Linked DNA regions of Homo sapiens: region 2 is linked to region 1. Evidence: promoter capture Hi-C in 16 types of primary human blood cells and fetal thymus (Javierre and others, 2016). All regions are on one chromosome and are shown on one strand. The core of a region is centred on a gene start or on the middle of the fragment in contact, and the rest is flanking DNA. Distances in the headings are between cores, read along the strand shown. Region 1 holds the start of PSD4 (pleckstrin and Sec7 domain containing 4). Region 2 has its middle 9.4 kb from the start of IL1RN.

The links. Contacts are between HindIII fragments. The CHiCAGO score rates a contact against its expected background, and 5 or more counts as called.
Region 2: a contact is called between a fragment that was not itself captured here and the fragment with the promoter of PSD4 in region 1, in 2 of 17 cell types (total CD8 T cells and naive B cells). The highest score is 5.6, in total CD8 T cells.

What each region holds. Positions count from the first base shown.
Region 1 is chr2:113,169,352-113,175,383 of GRCh38, forward strand. PSD4 (pleckstrin and Sec7 domain containing 4) reads left to right here and starts at 4,620. Exons shown (of 17, transcript NM_012455.3): 1 at 4,620-4,703. It overlaps LOC124907872 (a long non-coding RNA gene), which reads right to left. Exons shown (of 2, transcript XR_007087197.1): 1 at 5,919-6,032; 2 at 1,997-2,674. RefSeq lists enhancers at 2,962-3,462, 3,463-3,963, 4,193-4,262, 4,313-4,482, 5,103-5,192. The HindIII fragment of the contact is 16,060 bases long and covers 1-6,032 here.
Region 2 is chr2:113,134,114-113,139,886 of GRCh38, forward strand. No RefSeq gene overlaps it. Among named protein-coding and RNA genes, the nearest start is that of IL1RN, 9.4 kb to the left of the region's middle. RefSeq lists a silencer at 1,354-1,503. The HindIII fragment of the contact is 1,584 bases long and covers 1,289-2,872 here.

The DNA.
Region 1 (6,032 bases), core at 3,370-5,869:
TCCAATATTTAAAAATTAAACTCTGGGCCGGGCATGGTGGCTCAGCCTGTAATCCCAACACTTTGGGAGCCCAAGGTGGGCAGGTCACCTGAGGTCGAGAGTTCAAGACCAGCCTGACCAACATGGAGAAACCCCGTCTCTACTAAAAATACAAAATGCGTGGTGGTGCATGCCTGTAAACCCAGCTACTTGGGAGGCTGAGGCAGGAGAATCGCTTGAACCTAGGAGGCGGAGGTTGCTGTGAGCCAAGATAGCACCATTGCACTTCAACCTGGGCAACAAGAGCGAAACTCCATCTCAAAATAAATAAATAAATAAATAAATAAATAATAAATAAATAAATAAAAGTTAAACTCTGGATTTTCTCCCCTGAGCCTCATCTCCCAGTTCTTTCCTATTTCAGGAAATGCCATTATTACTGCCCATCTGGTTGCTTAAGTCAGAAATCTGGAAGTTGCCCATGACTTCCCCTCCCATCTTGTCCCCTCGAATATAATGAAAGAGCAGGTTCTATAATCATCCCCCATATGCATTCCCAGCCCTATGCCTCTCTTCTTTGCCGTGACTGCCCCAGCCAAGCCACTCTCCCCCATTGCCTGGACTCTCACAGAGCCTCCTGACTGGTCTCCTTGAACTTACGTAGCCTCTACCATCTCTTCTCCATACAGCAGACAGGTCCATCTATTCTCCATATAGCAGATGGATGATCTTAAAAGTAAATACACAAATACTCTTTGACCTGTCATTTCTCTGCTTTAAAAATGCACCCTGGGGGTCAGGCATGGTGGCTCACGCCTGTAATCTCAGCACTTTGGGAGGCCAAGGTGGGCGGATCACCTGAGGGCAGGAGTTCAAGACCCAGCCTGGCCAACATGGTGAAACCCCATCTGTACTAAAAATACAAAAACGAGCTGGGTGTGGTGGCACACATTAGTAATCCCAGCTACTCGGGAGGCTGAGGCAGTAGAATCGCTTGAACTCAGGAGGTGGAGGTTGCAGTGAACCAAGATCTCGCCATTGCACTTCAGCCTGGGAGACAGAGCAAGACTCCATCTTAAAAACACACAAACAAACAAGGCCAGGCGCTGTGGCACATGCCTGTAATCCCAGCACTTTGGGAGACCAAGGTGGGCGGACCATGGGGTCAGGAGATCGAGACTATCCTGGCTAACACGGTGAAACCCCGTCTCTACTAAAAATACAAAAAATTAGCCAGACATGGTGGCGGGCCCCTGTAGTCCCAGCTACTCTGAAGGCTGAGGCAGGAGAATCGCTTGAACTCAGGAGGTGGAGGTTGCAGTGAGCCGAGATCGCACCACTGCATTCCAGCCTGGACGACAGAGTGAGGCTCCATCTCAAAAAACAAACAAACAAAAATGCACCCTGGGCTGGATATGGTGGCTCATGCTTGTAATCCCAGCACTTTGGGAGGCCGAGGCAAGTGGATCACTTGAGGTCAGGAGTTTGAGACCAGCCTGGCCAACGTGATGAAATCCTGTCTCTACTAAAAATACAAAAATTAGCCAGATGTGGTGGCAGATACCTGTAATCCCAGCTCCTTGGGAGGCAGAGGCAAGAGAATTGCTTGAACCTGGGAGGCAGAGGTTGCAGTGAGCTGAGATCATACCACTGCACCCCAGCCTGGGTGACAGAGTGAGACTGTCTCAAAAAAAAAAATGCACCCTGTCTTGCCACTGGGGTGCCTGTGGGATCTGGCCCTGCCCCTCCTGGCCCCATCTTTTCCCACACCCCCTGGGACCCTGGGACTGCGCTGCACCACACTGGCTTGCTTTCTATTCCCTGGAAATGTGGAGACATTTCCCACCTCAGGGAAGGAATTAGAAGCCGAAAATGCCCTTCCATACTGGACCCTCCTCACCAGGACATGGTGCAGCTTCAGAGACCTTCCCGAATTCCCACGGCAGTGTGCTCACCCTTGCTGCTCTCTTATTTCTCTCTGCTTCTTCCCAGGCATTCTTCACAATTTATGATAAAGTTTGATTCATAAGTCCGATTGTTTATTTTCTTTCTCTGTCAGTAGACTGGAAGCTCCCTGAGAACAGGAGTTGTTCTGCAGTAGACAGGCCTATGCAAACCTACCCCAAAGTCTGAGGAAGTTGAGAAGTTGAAGAAAGAGGCTGAGAAAGCTAGGGGACTTTCCAACAGAAGCCATGTAGGTGTCTCAGGCGGCAATGAGATGAGATGGTGGATCCCCGCATTAGCACCCAAACCCAGGGCTCATATACCATAGGGTAGGAGTGGTTCAGATGGGATTTATAAGACAATTGAAGTGTGATATCATCAAGGTTGTTTGACCTACGAGTAGCACTTACGGACTTACAGTAAGTATCTGCTCTTACACAGGAAACAATAGATAAACTGGAAATTGTAGAGGCCCTGCCTTGGAACTGGGGTCACTCAGTTAAGTCAATGTGGCAGGTTAGCTTCCAAGATGGAGTTGCTTCAGCTTCCACAGGGGTCATGTGTTTTATTCCTGATAGGTCAGCGGCTTGTAGCATAGAGCCTGCACAGAGCAGGTGCTGACTTTGAGCCTTGGCCATGTTCCGGAGACACCCCTAGCGGCTGGGGCCCAGAGTGGAGGGTTTGCATTTAGGTCTTGGTGACTTCAGGTTTCTGACTTACCCAGCTTGATGGAGAGAGAGAGTTGTAAAACCTGAAATATATGAGGAAGAAGAGCTTGGAGAAGAGAAGGAACCAGGTTTGCCTTATAAACATTGAGTTTGAAGTGCTGGTGAGATAAGCATGTCCCCAACATTTGCCAGCCCTGGGAAGTGGAGAGTGGAGGACCCCATCTGATATGTCCAAATACATGAAAGTTAAGACTAAAGCTCACAAACTGTCATATAAAATGTGTCCTGCCGGGTGCGGTGGCTCACGCCTGTAATCTAGCACTATGGGAGGCCGAGGCGGGCGGATCACCTGAGGTTGGGAGTTCGAGACCAGCCTCGCCAACATGGAGAAACCCCGTCTCTACTAAAAATACAAAATTAGTCGGGCGTGGTGGCGCATGCCTGTAATCCCAGCTACTTGGGAGTCTGAGGCAGGAGAATCACTTGAACCTGGGAGGTGGAGGTTGTGGTGAGCCTAGATGGCATCACTGTACTCCAGCCTGGGCAACAAGAGCGAAACTTGGTCTCAAAAAAAAAAAAAGTGTCTATTCTCCTAATTCTCCTACCTCCCACTTTCATCATGGCCTGGAGCTCCAGGTTTGAAGGAGGATTCTTAGCCGCCTCTGAATGTTGCTGCCACAGCACAGCCCACCCCAGCCTTTGGCCCACGCCACAGCTCCACCTCCCTTTCTCTTCCCCACCCTGCTCTGTATCACACGTGCATGTGGGTGGGTGACCTGCCCAAAGGTTTGAGCTCTCTCTACCTGCTCCCGTCTCTGCTATCAGGACTCTTGCCAGCGCTTCACCCAGTCTCAGGCTGCATAGGGCAGCGGTGCTGTGTGCCCACATGGGGAGGAGGCCATTTGGGCCCCAGAAGTGGAGAGTCTCGGGATCTGGGGCACGCAGAGTGTGGTGGAGAAGCAGGGTGCACGGGCTCCATGTTGGTATGTTCCTGTGGACTCTGTACCCTGCAGGGAGGGGTGCGGCTGTAGGTGAGCTAGAGCCCGACCCTCTCAACTCTGGGTCAGGGTGGCTGGTCCCCACTGCTGTGTGGACATGCAAGTGAGGGAGTCTCTGGGTCAGCTGGAATCATGAAGACGAGAGTTCAGGGAGGGTGGGAGTGGTGGAGCCTCAGCAGAGAAGTTGACGGTCATTGATGTTGAGGAAGTAGATTGTGTGGAGGGAGGAGAATGGCATGGTGTTTGCGCTCCCCACCAGCCTCACTTACACTTGTGGACACTGCGGCCGGTGTCCTGAGGACGTGTGTTGGGAATTCAGCCACGGGGAATGGAGGTCCCTTGGTTCATATAGTCACAGGCTCTGTATTCTAACCCCAGCTTTGTAATTTTCCAGCTGTGCAACCCTGGGCAGTGGCTTAGCATCTCTGAGCTTGCCTCCAGATCCGGATCTGTATGATGGGGTTATTAATGCTTCATAAAGTAGGTGTGAGGAGGGATTGAGGTACTATTGGGAGAAACTTTGTAACTAAAAGGCAATTGTATCATTTGCATTATTACCAGTGACATGAGACATAGTCACACAAAAATTGAAATGTCATTTGTTTTAAAACCAGAAATTGCCCAACTTAGGGCCCTCCTGTCTCTCACTGGGTGCCCTGCAGGGGACCAAGAGCCAGAGCAAGACTGAGAACCTGGGGCAGAAGCGCAGGGAGGAAGGAGGTGGGGCCTGCTTACCAACCAGGCCTCGGCCCCTTCCCCTTTCAATCCCAGGCCCCTGCATGGCAGGGAGAGGCCAGTTCCACCATGGCAGGTTCTTTCTAGGCTGGTGTGCAGGGTGGGGGCCTCCAAGGAGCAGGGGCATGGGGAAAGGGGCTGCAGGCGCTGGGCCTAGGAAGAGAGGCTCTTATCTTGTGGGCAGGAAGTGTGAGGTGTTGAGCAGCTAGGGAACCCTGGGGAGGCGGCGGGGAGCAGGAGGGGTGTGTGTTGTGGTGAGGAGGAGCGGAAGTCGGAAGCTCCAGCCGTCACAGCCACATTCACTGGGCAAGCCGACTGTGAGCCAGGAAGTGCTCTTGGGGAGCCCAGGCCAAGCCATCCATTCTTGGGTCCTTTGGAGGTGAGCTAAGTGGGTCTGCCTAGGTTGGGGCTGGTGGAACCTGTGGGAGCAGGGAATGTGGAGAGTCACATGTGGGTCCTTGTGGCAGGGGCTGGGGCAGGTGGGCAGGGGAGAGGCGAGGGCTCTGGCAGTGCCGTGTGCACCTGCCATGAGCCTGGGCTAGGCTAGGCCCCTCCTTCCCCCTTCCTGCTCTGTGTCCCGTCCCCCTCCTCCCTCAGCCTACCCCTCCTCATCTGACCCTTCTCTGATTCCCTGCCCTGGCCCCACGGACCTCTGTTGTTTCCCTTCCCTGGCTCCCCGCAGAGCCTCTGGAGGTCTGCAATAGTGAAGGGTGAAGGAAGCTCCTTGCTAATCCTCTTGTGAGTGTCACTGCGTCCCCAGTGACTGCTCTGGCTGAGTACCCAGTGGGGGCTTTTGTGGCCAAAGGTCCCAAGTGATTCTCGACCCTAGACTCTGGAGAGAGGGAGTCTGGAAGGCCTGGGTTTGGGGTGGGGGTGGCTCTGGGTGTGGTTGCTGCAGGAGCTCAGAGTCAACTTGGCCATCAGGGGGCTCCCAGCTTCATCTTGCCTTCCAGGACCATCCTGGAGAAGCTCGAGGAGAGGTAAGGGGACCCTCCTTACTGGTTTAGCTCTGGCTTAGGCCTGTTGTCCTGATGGGCAACAGGAACCACTGAACTCTCAAAGTGTGCCTGTGTAGGAAACTAAGGCCCACTGTAGTCATTATTGTTATAGTGAAGGTAGCTGCATGGAGGGAAAGTCCCCTGACACTGCCATTCCCCCCTTATTCCAGGGCCTAAAATTCCACAGTTGAAGTCACTCCTCTGCTAGAATGCAGGGAAGGGTGGCCTGTCATTAGCTGATGATAAATACTCCTCCGTTCATTGGACCTTGGACCAGCTTTAAAAAGTGGTCCCCAAGCAGGCCTGTCTCCCAGCTGCCTAGGACTCTAGAGCATCCCGTGGCCCCCTCCTCCTACAGACAAGGAACCGCCTAGCATGGGGATCAGAACACAGGCTGCTGAGCTCTTTGTTGGGGAAGGGGGAGAGACCCACAGAAGGGGTGAGGGATGTGGGGTGAGAGGACCCAGGGAGGAGAGGCCCAGCCTGGCCCCAGCCCCCTAGGGGTCTTTGTCCTCCCCAGGCAGCAGCTGTACTGGGTCCCCTTTGTCATTCTGTCCCTACCCCCGTGATCTCTCCCCTGGATACTCTCTGCCTACCTCAGACCGCCATCCTCTGCTCCCTTCCTGAGCCTCTGCTGGCCTCACCACAGGCCTTCAGTAGCACTGTCTTCTCTCTCTCTCTCTCTCTCTGTGTGTGTGTGTGTGCGTGCA
Region 2 (5,773 bases), core at 831-3,330, 38 kb before region 1:
CTGGCCTCTTCTCTGAGAGTTCTTTTCTTCCTTCAGCCTCACTCTCCCTGGATAACATGAGAGCAAATCTCTCTGCAAAAAAGATATGGGGCAGCACTGTCCACAACAGCCTCTGCTGGAAACAACCCAAGCACCCATCACAGAATGAATTAGTACATCATGTATCTGCACACAACACAGTGCTCCTTGGCAAAGAAAATGAATGAATTACAGCCAGCTGCACCTCACAAGACAGATAATCTTACAAACATCATGTGGGTACAAGAATCACAAAAGCATGCATAGAGTGTGATTCCATTTCTACAAAGTTCAAAACGGGCAACATGGGGCTGTTGTGTGGAGGGCTGTGGAAACAGGTGGTGCAGAGAGAAGCAAGGCCATGCTCTGTCTGAAGGCCCAGTGACACTTGGCCCCTGCGAGAGAGAGTGGCAGGCAGGAGCACCTGGGGGATTTTAGGGTCCAGACAACATTCTATTTCTTGGCATGGATGCAGTTAGGCGGTTTTCTGTATGTATATTTTATTTCACAATACCTAGAAAATAAAAAGACTTGCCCCCCAACAACCAGGGTGTAAAGAAAGGAGCATCTGGGAAATTATGAGATTAGTGAATGGAGTATTGAATTTGTCCCCATAGGTGGGAGTGCAAGACCATGAGTGACCACTTATCAAACACACCTCAGTAAACAGTCAGGAGAGTGAGGAGTGTGGTCCTTTCACCTGCCCAGGTTGTTTCTGTTAGATTCTGGGCTTGGTCTCTGGAGTCCAAGAGGCAGGCCCCAGTGAGGTCATGCACTTGCTGTCTGATTTTGGCCAAGTCACCTCCCTTTGTGGGGACTGTTCCTCATTTGTTTGAGGGGAATGTTGATTTGGATGGGGATTTTCCAAACAGAGCTCCTTGGACCCTTCCCTCTAAGGTCTCTGGAAATGGGAAACCCTGCAGAGGGGAGGATAAATGGGCCAGGATTCATCCCTTGAACCCTGTTCCCAACAGAGCCCTCTGTTTTTCTCTTCTTTACAACTTGGACCTCCCATGGGACTTTGTTTGAAAGGGAGACTTCATTGCTAAAAGCAAACTAAACTAAATAGGCTAAAAGGCAACAAACTGGAGAAAATGTTTAAGGTCTTCTCTAGATCTAAGATCCTATGACGTTGAGGAGGTCATCCAACATCTCTGAGTTTTCTCTTTCTTGTATATAAAATGGAAGTAGCTGGCAGGGCAGGGCATGTGTCGTTGATATATTTTTAATCCTGGTAAAAGGAGGAGGTTCAAGGCAGAAAACTCATCAAAGCTTAATGACAACAATAGCAGCTAACATTTGTGAGGCTCTAAGGTAAAACCCAAGGCTAAGACTCTTCATGCAAACTAGGTCAAGCAGCAAGCTACAGGTTAGAAACAGGCAAGGCAGCAAAACAGTCACATGGGTGAACTCTGGGACTCTGCAGTCACACTCTGACTCTCCTGCTTGCACTGGGTGCTCATAAGCAAGCTAGTTAACACCTCAGAGCCTTGGTTTTCCCACCACTAAATGCAAATAATAGGCAATGCTGAGTTATTGCAAAGTTACTTAATCTTTGCAATAGCCTTCTGTGGTGAGTGGCATATTCTTATTATTATTATTAGTCCTAGAAGAGTCAGTGCTCAAAGGAATCTGCTTTAGAGCCTTATTGCTCCAAGTGTGGTTCATGCATCAGCAACATCAGCATACTTCTGGAGTTAAAATGCAGATTCTCAGATCTCAGGCTTGACTTACTGACTTAGGGTCATCATCTTAACCAGATCTCCCATGCACATTAAATTTGAGAAGCACTGTTTTAAAATGCATTAGCCGGGTGCAGTAGTTCATGCTTGTAATCTCAGCACTTTGGGAGGCCGAGGCAGGTGGATCACATGAGGTCAGGAGTTCGAGATCAGCCTGACCAACATGGTGAAACCTCATCTCTATTAAAAATATAAAATTAGCTGGGCATGGTGGCGCATACCTGTAATCCTAGCTACTCAGGAGGCTGAGGCAGGAGAATCACTTGAACCTGGGAGGTGGAGGTTGCAGTGAGCCGAGATCACACCATTGCACTCCAACCTGGGCAACAAGAGCAAAACTCTGTCTCAAAATAAAGAAAGAAATAAGATAAAATAAAAAGCATAAATCGCACAATGCATAAGTTTTGGCATACGCACTAGCATAAAGGGATTCTCCTACTTATAAACCTAGCCCATCTCCTTACTCTCTATCACACTAGCCCATTGATGACACCAAAAACTCCCCTCTTAACACTTTAGCTGGGCATGGTGGTTCACGCCTGTAATCCCAGCACTTTGGGAGGCTGAGGTGGGCAGAGCACTTGAGGCCAGGAGTTCAAGACCAGCCTGACCAACATGGCAAAACCCTGTCTCTACTGAAAATGCCAAAAAATTAGCCAGGCATGGTGGTACATGCCTGTAATCCCAGCTACTTGGGAGGCTGAGGCATGAGAATCACTCAAACCTGGAAGGTGACAGTTGCGGTGAGCTGAGATCATGCCACTGCATCCCAGCCTGGGTGATAGTGAGACCCTGTCTCAAACAAACAAAAAAACAAAACACTTCCTTACTTTGGTTTAAAGTGTTCCATAAAATATTCCTAAGAGGAAAAACTTTAAATCATCATCGTGCTGCTAGAATGTCAGCTCAACCCATGCAGATATTTTTGTCTGTTTTGTTCTACAGTGTATCTCAAGTGCCAAGGCCATTGCTTGCGATATACTGGGTGCTAAGTGAATATCTGGCCAGTGAATAAATGAATTGGCCACTGATATATCAATATGGATTAATTTATTCGACAGGTCAGCAAATTTGAGAAGACTGGGGACTTGGATCAGGAATATTTTGAAGGAAGCTTAGAAGAGGGAAAAGGCCCAGAGTGAAGGATTTTTCAGATATTTGGAGGTTAAGAAAAAAGATATGACCACGAGGTGGCGGTAGCACACATAGGCTTTCGGGTTGATGCTTTAACAGGTTTACACTGGGGAAGGTCCTTTATAGCAGGAATTGGTCAAGGAGGCTATAGTGTGGAGATGGGGTCCTACTCAGAGGGGAAGGAGGGCAAGAGGACTCCTAGGAAAGAAGAGAATTGGAAAGGGGGCTTACATGGCCAGGTGAAGTCACCCAGCAGCACAGCAGGGAATCTCTGGGTCAGAGAGCTCCTATGGGCTGCAGTGGCTTGAGGCCTTTATGGCTTGGGGCTTATCCTTGGCCAGCAGATATTGGATACAGTTTCATGGAGTATACAGAGCAGGCAGGTTCTAAATGGATTACCATAGGCTTATTGGGGCTATGTTTAAAGCAAGTGGATGTGCAAACATTTGAGTTTGGCTTGGTGGGGTATTCCAGGTCTGGTCTCAGCCTGCGGTGAGGAAATTAATAATCAAGGGGCCAGCACTTTATATAGCACAAGGCAGGGGCCATGGATTAGGAAAGCCAGGCCTGGGGTTCATGCTTAAGTGAGGCTTTTGTTCAACTGGGAGGCGGTGCACAGGTGACTGGGAGGTGGAGGGGCTGAGATGGGAGAGAAAAGCACAGAGAGGGAAGACAAGCAAGCCTCAAGAGGATTGTGGCTTCTTCCGTCACTTCTGGGCCTGATCTACTACAACACTACAGAATCAAGGACAACTGTTTGAAAATTCAAGGCTGAATTCAGGTCTTTCATTGGTGAGTCAGAGTTTTCCTACAGACTCCCTGGGGGGCCCTTGGCCAAGCAACCTCTCCTCCCTAGGCCTCAGTTTTCATAAAAGGAGGGAATTGAACTAGATATGTGTCTTCATCAGGCTGACCTGCAGGAGCTTTTTACCAAAAGTGGCCTACCTCCTCCATCCAGAGGTTCTGATTCACTTGATCTGGGTGTGGGACAAGGACATCATGATGCCAGGGCTGAGGCCCTGTGGACCACATAGCTCCTAAGTCAGGGACCCTGAGGTCAAGTCCTCCCAGCTCTCCCACCTGGCCCTGGTAGTGTCTGTCAATACAATGGAGGGAGATGGTCTTTAACTTCAAAGAAAGGCCACTTACCGCATCAGCAGTACATTTTGACTACATGTTAATTTGGGTTGAAGGTAGAAGATTTTCTATTTTCTCAATCACAGGCTGGCTAAAACACATTTCAAGCTTCATTCTGGGGGGAACATAAATTGGCCTTCAACAGGGGGTGTCAAATTGGGGTAAAATTCTTGCAAATCTTGGGGAAACCAAATAAGTTTTTGTTTTCTCTTCACATAACTATGAAATCCCTAGCCACAACAGCAAATCTCAACATGCTTGATATTCAGCCCAGTTCTCTCCATAAAAGTTTCTGGAGACAATGAAACTCATCTATTGGGTTCTTAGCTTTAAACCTGAGAAAGCTTAAAAACAGGGAAGATTAGCTTTGACGTCTTGCCTCTGGGTCTCCTTCATGTGGAGCTAAAAGAGTAGTTCAGGAAATATCCACCAGGGGTCAGCATTTTGTACACACCTGACTGCTCTGGAAAGTGTTTTTGTTTTTTTTTTTTTAAATAGAAACGGGGTTTCACCATTTTGCCCAGGCTGGTGTCCAACTCCCAGACTCAAGCAATCCGCCCGCCTCAGCCTCCCAAAGTTCTAGCATTACCGTGTGAGCCACCACACCCGGCCTGGAAAGAATCTTGACAAGGCAAATAATCAGTTTGGTTCATGCTCTCAAATTAGTGAAGGTCTGGTTTTTCAAGACTCTCTAGGTGTTTCACTCTAAGGAAAAATTTATTTTCATTCACCTATCAATCAAGCTGAGGTGGGGCCTGACTCCTGACAAGTATCCAAATGTTGCCTATTGCCAATGTCTAGTCTCCAAGGGGTGACACCCGAGAAATTCTAAGTCTTCTGTGCCTGCTTTAAAGTCCACTTCCTGTCATCCTGTTATCTGTTGCAGACCTTTTACCTGTATGATTGACTGGTGTGTGGAATTAACACTTCCCTCCTCGGCCGGGGGAACACACCCACATGTTGGAACTCAGCACAGGAATCCCAACGGCGTGCCTACAAGGGAAATGCGTACTTTTGTGTGTTGGTGGGTAGTGGACAGAACTCGTAAAAGAGATAGATAAAATACCCAGGCACTCACTACAGTGGGGAATGGATCTGTTCAGGGGCCAGCTATGCCTGCATTCTTTCCCAGGGACAGTTGACACAGTCAGATGACTCAGGAAACTTGATTTGCTTGGAGTCAGAGCAGAGGAAAGATCTTAGTGACCAGGGACCTCAAGCTGCCCCACCTGAGCGCTCCACCTCCACTCCAAGGGGCTTCCTGCCAAGAGATCAGTATGTCTGTGTGTAGAGTCAAGACACATCTTCCTTAGGCCACAATGGAGTCACACTGACATCTTCGCCTTCCCTCCTTGGCAGTATTTATTATAAGTCACAGGAGTTTAGTTTTCTTTCAACTCAGGCCTGTGGTTGGAGCACAGGGAGCTAGGCTGGGGCTAGATCTTGCTAACCTAGTAGGCAATGGTAAGGATTCTAGTCTGTCCTAAAGCATAAATAGGCCTTGGACACTCTGAAATTTGTCCTTTCACCACCCCATGCTCTACTTCTAAGTGCTCTCTCTCCCCATCTGCACCCCCTAGTTCCTACAAAAATCTCCTCAAAGCGAGGCTCTTGGACAATTTGTTCCATGAAGACATCGAGCACGGTCCATACCAGCCCTCAATAACCCCCTCTTCTAGACTCCATGAGGACCTGTAGCCCAGACCCCTGATCTGCATGGCGCCTCTGGGGTCTTTCCAGAG